2 separate regions of the Homo sapiens genome follow, and region 1 is linked to region 2. Evidence: promoter capture Hi-C in human tissues and cell types (Jung and others, 2019). All regions are on one chromosome and are shown on one strand. The core of a region is centred on a gene start or on the middle of the fragment in contact, and the rest is flanking DNA. Distances in the headings are between cores, read along the strand shown.

Region 1 (4,254 bases), core at 1,288-3,787, 150 kb after region 2:
TTCTCTCTAGGGCATAGGGAAGTTCTTTCCCTCTCATAAGTGCACGCTTCATTCCTGCACCTCATTCTAAGCTCTGTGCATGTTCTCTCATTGGAGAAGCCTTCCCTGGTCACCCTATTAATAAAATAACAGACTTCTATCCCCAGGCTGTATTACTCATCGTCTCTCTTTGCCCTGCTCATTTATTGTCTATTCCATCACTTCCTCTACCCCTACCAACATAAGAGTCCCACCAGGGATGTTCACAGTGATGTTCTCCCTAGGTCCCAGAACAGTGCCTGGCACTTAGTATGCACTCGGTAAATATATGTTGACTAATTGATGGCATAATTCCTTATCTTATTTAATCCTTGTGGCACTTCTTTTATGGGTTGGATGCTGGTATTTTGATTTGATGAACTGAGAAAGCAGGCTCAGTAACTTGCTGAGAGAATACAGCTACTATGGAGCTGAGTTTTGAACTTTTGTCCTTATGACTCTGAGTTCAGCATTCATCATATCACACTTTTAACCCCACCTAGTGATGTGGAACTATATGGCAATGCTAGTGAGTGCTGGCAAGTGGCATTCCAGGATTTGGTCATTGATGTTTAATGGGAGGACAGAATCATTAGGTTACAGCAGATTTACAGCTGATAATGAATTTTTTCAAGAAATTAAGTTGTGACCCATCTATGTATCTATTAATCAAGATTCCTCAGTCTCAACAGGGAGGATAATAAATTTAGTTTTTGTTTGTTTTTGAGACAGAGTCTTACTCTATCACCCAGGCTGGAGTGCAGTGGCTCAATCCCAGCTTGCTGCAATCTCCACCTCCTAGGTTCAAGCAATTCTCTTGCCTCAGCCTCCTGAGTAGCTGGGATTACAGGCATGCACCACCACACCCAACTAATTTTTGTATTTTTTTAGTAGAGATGGGGTTTCACCATGTTGGCCAGGCTGGTCTCGAACTCCTGACCTCAAGTGATCCAACTGCCTCAGCCTCCCAAAGTGCTGGGATTACAGGCATGAGCCACCATGCCCAGCCAGTTTACGTTTTCTTTGTTTTAATTTTGTTCTGAATGAACAAATAGAAAACAACTTGCTGATTAGTCACTGTGTTGTAGTAATTATCATTTATTTCCACATCCCCCTTCTAGATAGACAACCATGTCATAACAGGATCTAGAGTATACGTAGTCTGGTCCAGAGACAGAAGATAGGAGGTTAACCAGATCAGAATCATTCATTCAAGGATCAGAGTTATATAACCAGCCACAGGTCAGATATAGAATGTTAGACATTCAATTTTTAAGATTTTCAGCAACAAAGTCTCCTTATCAGTGGCCCATTAAAGGAATACCTTGATAGTATTAAACAAGAAAGGTGCTGAAGATTAACCAAGTTCCCACACTTGCCTCTTACTGCTGCCTCTTTGGCCAGGGCAAAGCCAAGGTCAGATGCAAGGCTGACCCTGACAGGTATGTGACTCTTGAATACACTCTCTTAGCAATGGGGAGTCAAGGGAGCCCCATGAGTGACAGTTAGTGTATGTTTTGGTGAAGTTCATCTCTGAATGGACAATGTTGTCTCACAGATTGATGCTATTAGGGTTTTGTTTATGTGTAGATAATACTCTGCAGACATTTATCTTTTGTTTTAACTTAAATGGCTGCAAACAAGTCTGTTGAAACACCAGGAAATAGGTAATTATATATAAATGTGTTTTAAAAAGTTAAGCATGCAATGGGCCAACGTAAGTCAGCATATATTAACATTGCTTAGGGGGCAAATGTGTTTCTGGAACATAAAACTAGGAACCTAGCATGAGGTTTGTTTTCCTGCACACATCGTTTACCTATATATTTTTAGAACAACCATTCCATGCCAGGTAATGTAGTATATGCTCACAGTATACAGACATAAGACCCAGCCTGTTCTCAAGGAGCTCAGGACATAACAACTTCTCCGTGGGCCACTTCTAGACTCCTGTGTTTCTGTTTCTTTCAGCTTACAAGAATTCTAAAAGAGTGATATGGTTTGGATATTTATTGCTGCCCAAATCTCATGTTGAATTGTAATCCCCAGTGCTGGAGGTGGGGCCTGGTGGGAGGTGTTTGGTCATGGGGTGAATCCCTCATGGCCTGGTGCCATCTTCATGACAGTGAATTCTGGCAAGATCTGATCCTTTAAAAGAGTGTGGCACCTACCACCTCCACTCTCTCTTGCTCCCGCCTGTGATGTGCCTGTACCCCCTTTGCCTTCTGCCATGATTGGAAGCTTCCTGAGGTCTCTCCAGAAGCACATGCTGCTGTACTTCCTGTACGCCTACAGAACTGTGAGCCAATTAAACCCCTTTTTAAATAAATTATCCAGTCTCAGGTATTTCTTTGTAGCAAGGCAAGAACAGCTTAATACAAAGAGGAAATAAAAATTTGAGATACATGAAAAAGAAATCAATTAATTAGTTTAAAGTTAGTTTAATTGTTAATTAGAGGAAAGATACAGAGATTGTATCCTATAGTTTTTCTTCCTTCACACTTAATGGAGGGTTCTAAGTATGCAATCAGAGAAAGATATTAAGATAGAACAGATGTAAAGACTTTCCCTTTCTGACCTTAAAGCTGTGAAAAGATTTATTTACCTATTACATGTATCTTATATGTGTGTGTATATGTGTTTGTGACCCTCCGAAGTGTGTATGTCAAATTCCTAAGCCCTAGTATTTCAGAATGTGACTAAATTTGGAGACAGATCTTTAAAGAGATAATGAAATAAAATGAGATAATTAGAGTGGGCCCTAATCCAATGTGGTTGGTGTCCTTTGAAGAAGATGAGACTAGGATGCAGACAGTTACAGAGGGAAAATCATGTGAGGATAAAAACAGAAGATGGCTATCCGCAAGTCAAAGACAGCAGCCTCAGATGAAACCGACCCTGTCAACATCTTAATCTCAGACTTCTAGCCGTGGCTCTGAGAAAATAAATTTCTGTTGTTTAAGCCACTCAGTGTATGCTACTTTGTTTTGGCAGCCCTAGAAAATGAATACAAACACAGTATCCAAATATAAGGACCTTAGTTCTAAAGATTTTAAGAACCCAGAAACTGCACACATGTATCAGGGCTAGTTTAGAAAGAAATATTCTCAGGTGCTGGATCATACTGGGCTTGTGAAGCTCAATGACAGGATGAAAAACAATCCTGGCTGAATAGCTACGTGGATGTGAAGGGCTCTATGTCCTTAGTAGCTCATTGACTCAGTGAATAGTTTTTAAGCTCCTGCTATGTGCTAGGTATTGAACTAGGCAAGGAAAAACAAGAATTTGTCCTCGAGGCACTAGTTACTGTTGGCGGCAGCTGCAGTGTGAGGTCTTCTGAGTAATGTGAACAGGGCACATAACTGAGCAAGGGGGTTGTTCCAGGTCTGTATTCCCACTATCACTGGGCTACACTTGGTATTTTTTGTTTATTTCTCTTAAAGCCTTCTTTTTTATTATTGACCTTCTCTTTTTTATTTTATTTTTTATCTTTTTCTAAGTGGCTACATACTGGATATCAACACTGGATTTGTAGTAGTTCAGTTAGGCTCCTAGGAAGTCATTCAGAGAACGTGTTGCAGTGAATCAGACTGTGTTAACTCTGACCTAGAGTGTTATCGTCTGTCTGGCTCAATTCCAGAAGAGAGAACCTCCTCCTGTGACCTCTTCCCCTGTATCTCAGGCCATAAATAGGTGCTGGGGCCCTGCCAAGTTGGGTCACTGTGGTTCATGAGGGACTGTCAGTTTCTTACAAACATTACGCAGCTGCAAAATTGCTATGCCACCCAAGGTGACTCATAAAATCTGTCCCTCTTAAAAAGGGAATATGAGAAATGTCACCTCCTGGCTACCACAATAATGCAACTAGGAGTTCTGGTTCTCCGCTGACTACCCACAGGAGTCCTTAGAGGAACCACACAGGAAACCTGGGAAACCTAACACTCTGATTCCAAGGCAAGTATTAGGAAGCAGGGTAGAACTTCTGGGTATTTTAGTCCAGGATTGTGATAAAATATAAACGATGTTTGATATTTACTTGTATTAGTCAGGGTTTTCCAGAGAAACAGAACCAATAGGATATATGTATATATATGTATATATGTATATATGTATATATATATGTATATATGTATATATGTATATATATGTATATATATATGTATATATGTATATATGTATATATATGTATATATGTATATATGTATGTATATATGTATATATGTATATATGTATATA
Region 2 (4,321 bases), core at 1-2,500:
CAGGTCCACCAGGTTGAGGGCGCTGCGCGCGAAGCGCCTCAGGTCGGGCGTGGAGGCTAGGCGCAGCAGGTACTCGAGCGTGAAGAAGCCCATGCACAGCATCTCCACGTGCTCCAGGATGGGCCGCAGGTCTGGGCCGCCCTCGCCCTGCCCCGAGTGCTGCTGCATCTCCTCCACGGTGTTGAGCGCCAGCGCCACCACGGAGACGAGCACGAAGGTGCTGGAGGCCACCCCGATGGCCTTGGCGGCCACCGAGGAGAATGGCTTCTCCATGAGGTTCCAGAGGCGGCGCCGCTGCGGGCCGTAGAAGCGCATGTCGCGGAAGAGTTCCTCCGCCTCCTCGACCTGCGCCTGCGCGCGCAGCTCGTGCTGGATCTTGAGCCGTTCGCTCAGCTCGTCGCGCCGCTCCTCGAAGCAGATGCGGCAGCAGCGTGGCGTGTACTTGAGCCGCACGCCCCAGTAGCCCAGCTCCTCCAGGAAGCGGCGCGGACACAGCCCGTCGAGCACCAGCAGCACCCCGGACAGGTAGAAATTGTAGACCAGCTGGAAGACGGCCGGGTCGCGGTCGAAGAAGTATTCGTCTGTCTGCTCCTCGTAGTCGTCGCACAGGCTTAGCTGGCGGCTGCGGCTGGTGGAGGTGGCCAGGCGACCTAGGCGCGTCTTGGGGAAGCCGGCCAGCTCGCAGTAGTCCAGCTGGTAGCTGTGGCCACCCACGTTCACATTCAGCGTGGACAGCAGGGCCGGAGGGTCGCTGGGGCCCTCGGGCTTGGCGGTGGTGACCTCCCCTGCCTGCTGGTCCTCTTCTGCCAGGTCGTCCTTCCACTGGTCCTCCTCCTCGCCGTCTTCGTCTTCCTCGATGTAGTAGTTATAGTTGCCCTCTGTCCAGCCGTGGATGCTGGCCTGGGAGCCGGAACGGGCACCCAGGGAGCAAATGCTCCTGCGGTGTTGGCTGCCCTCATTCTCCGTCGTGTTCCAGGGCCTGTAGCTCCAGGACCGTCTCCTCTCACTCTGTTTGAGCATGGCTGCGGAAAGTGGACGCCTAGCTTTTTCCTCCTGGCTGTGGTAGGGGTCCCTCACCTGCTCACTGCCTCTAGGAGGATGGATCACGTGGCCTGCACTGTCTTAGAGAGGCCAGCCCGGACCAGCACAGCTAGGGGCTCAGACATTGCCACCGGAGCTGCCCCTTCTCAGGTCCTGGGCAGGCCAGCCCAGCCTGCAGGGTCTGAACGCAGTCAGCTGTTGACTGCTCTAATCTTGCTGATTTGGAAGAAGCAAGTGTTAGGAGGGATTTAGAACCTCTTAGCCCATTTCCTCCCCCACTCCCTTGACCCTGTGAGGTAGAGGATGATTATGTGGTCTTAAATCTCTAGGTAATCAGAAGAAGGCAGAGATTATTGCTAATAAAAATGTCGGTCAACCTCGCTCTTAGGAAGCGCTCAGTGTATGTGTGCTGAGATGAAATCAACTGAATTAGCTATAGAATACGGATGCCTGTGTCTTCAGCTTCATGGTTGAGATGGTAGCCTCTGCCCTAGGTAAACTCACCATTAGCAGGGATGACACATAGCAACGGAACAAAGCTGACTTCATGACAAGTCAGTTTCCCTCTCAGCGTAACTCTTCGTTTAGAGCATATAAGATCTAAAGCCATCTCCTTCTTGTCCATTCACATGATCACATTTTTTTTTTTTTTTCAAATGGATTCTCCCTGGGGCACTGTTCAGGTCCAGTCGGATCTTTGAGTCAGCTTCAGCTTCTCTCTCTCCTTTTTATCTCCTCCCTTTCTCTTAAAGGATAGAGACATGTTTCAAGGTAGAATTCCAGGAATGGTAGGAAGACGTTTTTAGGGCCTCACAACCCTGCTCAGCAATATTAGGCCATATTTAAAGGGAGCCTGACTTCCACCCAAAAAAAAAGGGTCTTCTTCATCCTTCAAAACATCACTTTAAAAAAAAAAAAAAAACCCTTTTCATGATTAAGGCAATGTGCAAATGCTGGATATGCAAACACGATGGAGACACAGTTGTAGCAGTCAAAGAACTCTTGGTTTTGTTGGGGATATAAACATGCAAGGATAACAAAAGATGCAATAAATACTGGGGAGGAGAGAAGCAGGAGGGATTTGCTTTGAGCAGGGAATTGGTTTTTCTATTCAATTTATTTTGCATAGCTAATACACATTCATGATAAAAAATTGTAAAGGTAAAAAGACATATTACAGTAGAAAGTTTATGTCTTTCCCACCCATAATTTCAAGACATCAGGTGTACCTCAAGGAAGCAACCACTATTACTACCTTTTGGCTATCCTTCCAGAAATATTCTAAACATATACAAGCAAAAATATACCTACCTTTATCCATCATCTCAGTACCTCTTCATTATTAATAGAAATCATAGAATGCTATATACTTTGCCTTTTCCAGTTGGCCATATAAAAGATGTTTTCATATTTGAACACAAATATCTACCTTATTTTAAAAATAGCCACTGAGCACTTTCCTAATGACAGACATTCAGAATGTTTCTACCTTTGCTTTTATGGACAATTATGCAACAAATACCTTATATGTACATCACTTTACACATGTTCAAGATATATAAAGGATAAATTCTTAGAGGTGAGATTACTAGGTCAAAGATTGCACATTTGTAATTTTGATTAGTAGTGCTACATTTCTCTCCATAAAAGTTTTACCAATTTACAATTCATCAACGGTTGAAAATGTCTTATACTTTTTTAACTCTACCAATTTTGTAAGTGAAAAATGATGTGTGGGTTAATTTGTATTTCTTATAAATGTGATTGAACACTTTTTCATGTGATTAAAAGCTATTTCTTTTTCTGGGAACTGTCTGTTCATCGACTTTGCCTATATTTTCCACTGAGTTGTTTACATTTTTCTTATTGATTTGTAGGAGAGCTTAATACATTATGAAAAAAGACCCTTTACTTGTGATATGGATTGCACCTTTTTTCGGTTTTAACTTTAATATTTTTTCCATGTAAAAATCTTTATTTTATGATTTCTGGGTGTTGTGTAGTATTAGAAAAGGCTTCACCTCTCTGTAAATAAAACTTTTCTTTTTATAGTTTTAACATCAGAAATTAATTTTGATGTAAAGAGTGAAGTAGGGGCCTAACTTTATTTTCCAAGCTTTTATCCAGATGTTTCAACACATTAATTGCATAATCCATCATTTCCTCACTGATTTGTGGTACTATCTTTGTCACTTAGTTGAGTTTTAACTATGCTTCAAAGTTGTTGAGACGGGTAACGTTATGAGGTCTGCATCTGCTAGTGTGGCATTCACTGATGTTGTTTAGCTTGCAATAGGCCTCAGACCTACAAGCTTATGGTAAAGCTTCTTACCAGGCTTAGCCTTTAAGTTCCTAAATGTATTTCTAGCGTTCCCTTTTTGGTATACAATATTGATGTTGTTTTGCTAGCCACACACTTAATTGCTTTCCAAGTCTATCTTTTCTTTATATTGTGCTGAGTACTGCCATAATAGATTTTGCATGTTGCATAAATTCACCTTTTCTCTTCAGAACCAATTATACTATTATAAAAAGTAAAGACTGGGTGTGGTGGCTCACGCCTGTAATCCTAGCACTTTGGGAGGCCGAGGTAGGTGGATCACTCGAGGTAAGGAGTTTGAGACCAGCCTGGCCAACTTGGTGAAACCCCATCTCTACTAAAAATACAAAAATTAGCCGGGCTGGGCATGTTGGCGGGTGCCTGTAATCCCAGTTACTCAGGAGGCTGACACACAAGAATTGTTTGAACCCGGGAGACAGAAGTTGCAGTGAGCTGAGATCATGCTGCTATACTCCAGCCTGGGTGACAGAGTGAGACTTGGTCTCGACAAAAAAAAAAAAAGTAAAAATATCACCATTTTCATATTTTTATCTTCTTCTTTTTCAATTGAAATAATATACTACTTTTTTTTTTTTTTTTTGAGACAGAGTCTCACTGTGTTGCCCAGGCTGGAGTGCAGTGGCGTGATCTCGGCTCACTGCAATCTCCGCCTCCTGGGTTCAAGCAATTCTTCTGCTTCAGCCTCCTGACTAGCTGGGATTACAGGCGCCCGCCAGCATGCCTGGCTAATTTTTGTAATTTTAGTAGAGATGGGGTTTTGTCATGTTGGCCAGGCTGGTCCCGAACTCCTGATCTCAGGTGATCCACCCACCTTGGTCTCCCAAAATGCTGGGATTACAGGTGTAAGCCACCATGCCCAACCCATGTACTACCACTTATCCAGACTTTCAACACTTAAAAACTATGGAGTTAGTAATGTTTGTATGGCATCTAGAAGCT

The links. Contacts are between HindIII fragments. The study calls those that stand out against the background at their distance.
Region 1: a contact is called between a fragment that was not itself captured here and the fragment with the promoter of KCNV2 in region 2, in 1 of the 25 tissues and cell types used here (spleen).

The regions. Positions count from the first base shown.
Region 1 is chr9:2,570,340-2,574,593 of GRCh38, reverse strand. All of the region lies in intron 1 of VLDLR-AS1 (VLDLR antisense RNA 1), which reads left to right. Among named protein-coding and RNA genes, the nearest start is that of VLDLR, 49 kb to the left of the region's middle. The HindIII fragment of the contact is 4,718 bases long and covers 179-4,254 here.
Region 2 is chr9:2,714,439-2,718,759 of GRCh38, reverse strand. It overlaps KCNV2 (potassium voltage-gated channel modifier subfamily V member 2), which reads right to left and starts at 1,250. Exons shown (of 2, transcript NM_133497.4): 1 at 1-1,250. The coding sequence starts at 1,020. The HindIII fragment of the contact is 9,328 bases long and covers 1-4,321 here.